Regions from separate parts of the Homo sapiens genome. Here region 1 is linked to region 2. The links are contacts of gene promoters, found by promoter capture Hi-C in human tissues and cell types (Jung and others, 2019). All regions are on one chromosome and are shown on one strand. The core of a region is centred on a gene start or on the middle of the fragment in contact, and the rest is flanking DNA. Distances in the headings are between cores, read along the strand shown.

The links. The method cuts DNA at HindIII sites, captures the fragments that hold promoters and counts their contacts. A contact is called where the count stands out against the background at its distance.
Region 1: a contact is called between a fragment that was not itself captured here and the fragment with the promoter of DRD4 in region 2, in 1 of the 25 tissues and cell types used here (lymphoblastoid cells).

Annotation. Positions count from the first base shown.
Region 1 is chr11:906,841-909,774 of GRCh38, reverse strand. All of the region lies in intron 1 of CHID1 (chitinase domain containing 1), which reads left to right. Among named protein-coding and RNA genes, the nearest start is that of CHID1, 2.5 kb to the left of the region's middle. The HindIII fragment of the contact is 5,018 bases long and covers 1-2,934 here.
Region 2 is chr11:635,827-638,704 of GRCh38, reverse strand. DRD4 (dopamine receptor D4) reads right to left here and starts at 1,436. Exons shown (of 4, transcript NM_000797.4): 1 at 1,116-1,436. The coding sequence starts at 1,400. RefSeq lists enhancers at 1-480, 481-1,015, 1,016-1,549, 2,085-2,618, 2,619-2,878. The HindIII fragment of the contact is 8,949 bases long and covers 1,369-2,878 here.

The DNA of each region.
Region 1 (2,934 bases), core at 106-2,605, 270 kb before region 2:
AACTCCTGGCCTCCCAAAGTGCTAGGATCACAGGCCAGAGCCGCCATGCACCAGTTAGTTCTTCAAAACACAACAGAACAGGAGTTGTCAGTGCGTCCATCGCAGAATAGAGTTAGCTCTGATTGGCTGCTGTCGCTCTACACATGTACACACATGCACAACACATGTGCACACATGACATACACGTGTGCTGGGCTGTGACGTAAAGTGCATTTCTTACTGCTGGTCTCCATGAAAAGCATTGGAAAGCCCCTGCTGTGACTCCCATCATTTCCATCAACACCACCGAGGAGGTCCTGGACCTACGGACTGGGAGCGCAGGAAAGTGGGAGCAGTAGCGCTCCACCTTATCTTGTTACAGAGCGGTTTCTGGGACCCCTTTGGGTGACCAGGGTCGGGGCCTGTGCCTCTTCATAACACAACACATTCCCTTTGTGTGCGGGGCCGTTCTGCCCAAGGGAAGGTCATTGGCATTTGGGGAAGAAACGGTTTGATGCAGGAACACAGTGTGTGTGAACCTGGGAGTCTGTGTTATGTGAAGAGCATGATGGAGAGTGTCCTCACGGGCCTCAGAGCCGAGCGGCCGGTGAGCAGTGGGGAGCGGGAGAGGTACCAAAGCCCAGACAAGGGCCTGGTTGCAGTGTGAGCACCCCTCACACATCACACACACCATCTCCCTGGGGCAGTTGTCTGGAAAGTTCCATGGCAAGTCAAAGAAGCAGCCCAGCATTTGTGAGCAGCCTGTATCCAAGCACTCCATCACAGAGCGGGCAAGTTAAGCGCGAGTGGACAGAGGCAGTACCCTGGCCTTGTGTTCAGTTAGGTTCTCCTAGTGTCCCCTCTGCTGGACACATGCTGGCAGGACTGTCTTCCTCTTCCACCCTTTCCTCTTCCTTCCCTGAAGTGTGAAATCACAGGTTGGGGGGCAGGGAGGTCATAGGCAGAGGGGCCACTAGGTGGGTGGACAGTGGCCCTGTTTCAAATCTGCAGGACGGCAGGTAGGGGCAGAGACCCAGCCCTATAGTGGTTGGTCACTGGGTACCTGAGTGTGCCCTCCAGTTACTCCTGGGCCAGTCCCCTGGAGAACCACCGTTTGGTTTTTCATTCCTTTCCTTCCTCCCTGACCCAGATTTCCACCCAGAAGACAGAGAAGGAGCCAGTGGTCATGGAATGGGCTGGGGTCAAAGACTGGGTGCCTGGGAGCTGAGGCAGCCACCGTTTCAGCCTGGCCAGGCAAGTGATTCTGGGCCGTCTTCCCTGTGCCATGGCCAGAACCCTCCCCACCTTCCCTGGGGCTGTTGCTGACTCAGACCAAGCCTCAGCTGCAGCAGAAAGATAGTGGGGCTAAGGGGAGGTGGCAGCAGGCTGCTGCCCTTGGTTCTGATTCTGGGATGTATCACTGAGGAGAGGGGCTGGAGAGGTTGATCGGGGCAGAGGGTGGTGATCTGTGCCTGGGCCTTCTTATTCCCCCTGCACAGCCTCTCGGAACTGCCGTGGCTGTTCAAGCACTCACTGCCTTTGCCTGTGGCTCCATGTACTGGGTGCTGCTGTGCTTGCCCTGTGAGTTCCCTTCCTAACTCCCCATAAGCCTGCAGGTCAGGCTGTCTTGTGGCTCCCTGCCTCCTAGGTGGGGGAGCTTCACTGGTTGATCTTGCTCCAGGAGCGTGTTCTTTCTATGCAGGTGTGTTGTGGGTGTATTGGGTACCAAAGCATGCAAACTCCCTGCCTGGGGGTAGCCACAGTCTCCTCAGTCTGCACCAGGAGCACCAGTCTCACCCAGGGAAGAGACAGGGCAAAGTGGGGCAGCGTGTGCCTCTGCAGAAGAAAGCAGGTCAAGGGGACGGTTTCAGAGGAAGTGAAAACAGGTTCCTGGCCAGGGAGTCTTTTGGGTAGGAGGGTAGGCACTGTGGTAGGCCTGGCTCTGGCAGCATCTTCTGACAGGTGCACCTGCCTGGCTGGGGTTCCTGGAGCCTCTTGGGCCTGAGCTCCCATATACTCAGGAGCCTGTGACCCAAGGGGAAGGCCATGTGCCCAGCTGCTGGGTAGTGAGTTGGGCTGAGCTCCCCACCTGTCAGGTATCTGCCTCTGCCCAGGCTGTGTGGGCCTCTCAGCTGGTCTAGAGGGGTCTGTGCTGCCAGAGCTGTGAAACTAGCCAAGAGCTTCTTCCCAGCAGTGTCCCAAAGCTTCATGAAGGACTAACAGTCTGGCTGGGCTATGGTGGTGGTTCAGCTCCCACCGCCGCTGCCCCCAACCCCAGTGAAAGATAGAAAGTAGAATCACTTTTTTTTTTTTTTTAAAGACAGTCTCGCACCGTCGCCCAGGCTGGAGTGCACTGGCACTATCTCGGCTCACTGCGAACTCCACCTCCTGGATTCACACCATTCTCCTGCTTCAGCCTCTCGAATAGCTGGGACTACAGGCGCCTGCCACCATGCCTGGCTAATTTTTTGTATTTTTAGCAGAGATGGGGTTTCACCGTGTTAGCCAGGATGGTCTCGATCTCCTGACCTCGTGATCTGCCCGCTTCGGCCTCCCAAAGTGCTGGGATTACAGGCGTGAGCCACCGCGCCCGGCCGGAAAGTAGAATCACTTTTGTTGGTGGCCCCTAGAACCTGAAAGTGAACAGTGTAATAAAAGTTTAGTGCAGGAAGACCAGAAGATACAGATAAAGTAAAAGAGAAGAAACAATGACCAGTAATTCCAGATAGCCTGCTCATTTATTTTTTGTTTTGTTTCTTTGTTTTTGAGAGGGAGTTTTTGCTCCTGTTGCCTAGGCTGGAGTGCAATTGCGCGATCTCGGCTTACCGCAACCTCTGCTTCCCAGGTTCAAGTGATTCTCCTGTCTCAGCGTCCCGAGAAGCTGGGATTACAGGCATGCGCCAGCACGCCCAGCTAATTTTGTATTTTCAGTAGAGACAGGGTTTGTCCATGTTG
Region 2 (2,878 bases), core at 187-2,686:
GTCCCCGCTGGGCCTAGAAGCGAAGCTGGCTGCTCTGTTGGCTAAGTTCTCTGTGGGAGACTCGGGCACGTTAATTCATTTCTGTTTCTTCATCTGTAAGACAAGGGTGATGATAGTATCCACATCATAATTGTCTTGAAGATAAATTATAATTAAAAATATGAAGACCGTGCCCAGTGCCCAGCGTAGGACTCCACGTGGAGTGACTCTCTCCAAGGGCAAAGGAGCAGGCAGCCCCTCTAATCCTTCCCGCCGATTTGGGGAGATTAGGAGCTTAAACGTCGTCACTGTGACGTCTGCGGCTCGAAAGGAGCACAGGTCACGCGTGTCCCGTGCTGCTGGTCTCTGCCCCAGCCGCCTGGATTCACTGTGTCCATCAAGGGGAAACCTCGAGTCCCCCTCCCCCACAGTCGGGGACACCGCGTCTCCAGCTCAGCCCTAAGCTGCTTTTCTCTGGCCGCAGAGGGGCTGGCACCAAGGCCGACCCACTCGAGGGCCAGACCTGGTGTGGAGTGTGGGCTCCATCCCCCAATTCCCCCTCAGGCTTCCCCCCAGGGTTCTCAGCAGGGGCCTGGTCCCCACACACCCTCCCCTCCCCTGGGTTTTGTCCAGCCCAGGTCTCCCCTGCGAGCTGTGAGCCTCCTTCTGGGGGTGTGCCAGCATCTGCACTAGGTGTGTGTGGTGGGCAGTGGCTGTGGCAGTGTGTGTGTGTGTGTGTCCCACGGCAGCCAGGGGGCTGAGCCTGCATCTGCCTGTCTGTCCAGCTGGCTGCCCTGGAGGTGAAATCCAGCTACGGAGGGGACTGGGCTTGACAAAGTCGCCTGTTTCCGGGGTCCCTGGATAGAAGGACGGGCATCTCCTGGATAACAGACGCCAAGACAGACGGGGAAGGAGAAGAGGAACGAGGGTCGGGGGACAGACAGCGCAGCGGGTGGAAGGTCGCGAGGTGGCGGCGGTGGGTGTATCGCCGAGGGACAAGGCGCAGCGCCCCTGCCGCCGCCCCAGCTGGAAGCTCCGCACCAGAAAGGGGCCGGGTCGCGCCGGGTCCTCCGTAGGGACAGGGACGGGGAACCGAGGAGCAGGTGAGGATGCTCGTGCGGCCGGACGCGGCTCACCTCGGAGTAGACGAAGAGCGGCAGCACCAGGAGAGCGAGGAGGAGGTCGGCGGCCGCCAGGCTCACGATGAAGGAGTTGGTGGGCGTCTGCAGGGCGCGCTCGGTGGCCACGCTCACGCACACGAGCGAGTTCCCCGCGAGCACCGCGCCGATGAGCAGCACGCCCCCCACCAGCGCCGCCGCGCCCTGCCCAGCCAGCCCCGCAGATGCCCCCGCAGATGCCCCCGCGGCCGGCCCGCGCCCAGCCAGCAGCCCGTCCGCGTCCGCGGTGCTGCGGTTCCCCATGGCGCGCCCGGGCGGGCGCTGAGCACCGCGGACAACGCCGGGTCGCAAGCCGGGGAGTCCCTCCCCTCGGGCACGCCCCGGCCGGACCCTGGTCCCGCCCCCGACCCGCCCCGGCTCAGGGGGGCCCCCGCGGCGCTCCACCGTGAGCCCAGTATTTGCTCATCTTGGAATTTTGCGCAGGGAGAGACGGGCACGTGGACGAATGCGGCGGCCCAAAGAGACGGGAATGAAGCGAGGTGGTGGCCACGGGCAGGCCAGCATCGCCCGGCGCCGCGCGGGGTCCGCGACCCGAGAAACCGACAAGGATGGAGGGGCGGCCAGACCAGGCCCTGAAGCGCGCGGGCATCGACGCCAGCGCCATCCTACCCGGCCCGTGCGTGCGTCCCGGCCCTCGGGCGCTCACCCTAGTCCACCTGGTATCTGGCAAAACCTCCCTCCCAGGCCCGTTCCGCCAGACGCAGAAAGACCTGAGCTCAGGCTCTGCCCGCCTCCCCCGCGGACTCGCCTCGACCTCGTGCGCACCCTCCACGCCCGCTCCCCCTGCCCCCGACTCCGCGCCCGACTCAACCGCCGACGCCTAGCTCATCCCGCCGCCCCCCCCCCGCAGCCTCTGGCCCTCAGCCCCCGCGACCACCACGGTCAGCCGCGGCCCCACCCGTTGCACAGTTGATCCTCGCGTGGCCGCCTCCGAAACTGGGCGGACAGCTGAGCGGTCGACCCCGCTCCCTCCTCCATTCCCTCCGGCCCAAGACCGTGAGCTAGGTAGGCGCCCCTCTGACCCTGGGCAGGGGGTCCCGGGACCGGACAGTAGGTTCGGCTCGCGAGGAGGCCAGGAGAAAGACACGACAGGCCGGGGTAGGTTCCAAACGTGCAGAAGAGAAAGTGCTTGCAAAGCGCAGCAGAGAATTCTATGGACTCTTCACCAAAGAGGGGTGACCTGTGACCTGAGAGGTATTTTCTGTAGTCTGTCACTAAGGGGCCTAGAAGACACTAAAAGGGGGCACCACTCTGTGGGACCCCAGGCGGCGCACATCCTGATGCTCTAGTCTGTTTCTGGGAGGCCTGGAGTGGAGGGGCTGTGCCAGGAATTGAGGCCCCTGACCTCGAAGGTCTGGAGGACACGGGCTAGACGGAGGCGCTGACAGGGCGTGCGTTAAAGGGAGAAATGAGGACTCTGAGAAGGAGCAGGCACCGTGAGCCTCACAGGACAAGGTCACGGGGCTGCGGGGGAAGGGCCTGCACCAGGGACAGGTGTGCACAGGCATCAGGTGCGGCCGCAGCCAGGCTCAGTCCCTCTTGTGCAGATCAGTCTGCTGCCCTTGTGAACCCTTGAGCAAAAGAAGTCACCACAGGAGAGACCACCAGGGACAGGTGTGCACAGGCATCAGGTGCGGCCGCAGCCAGGCTCAGTCCCTCTTGTGCAGATCAGTCTGCTGCCCTTGTGAACCCTTGAGCAAAAGAAGTCACCACAGGAGAGA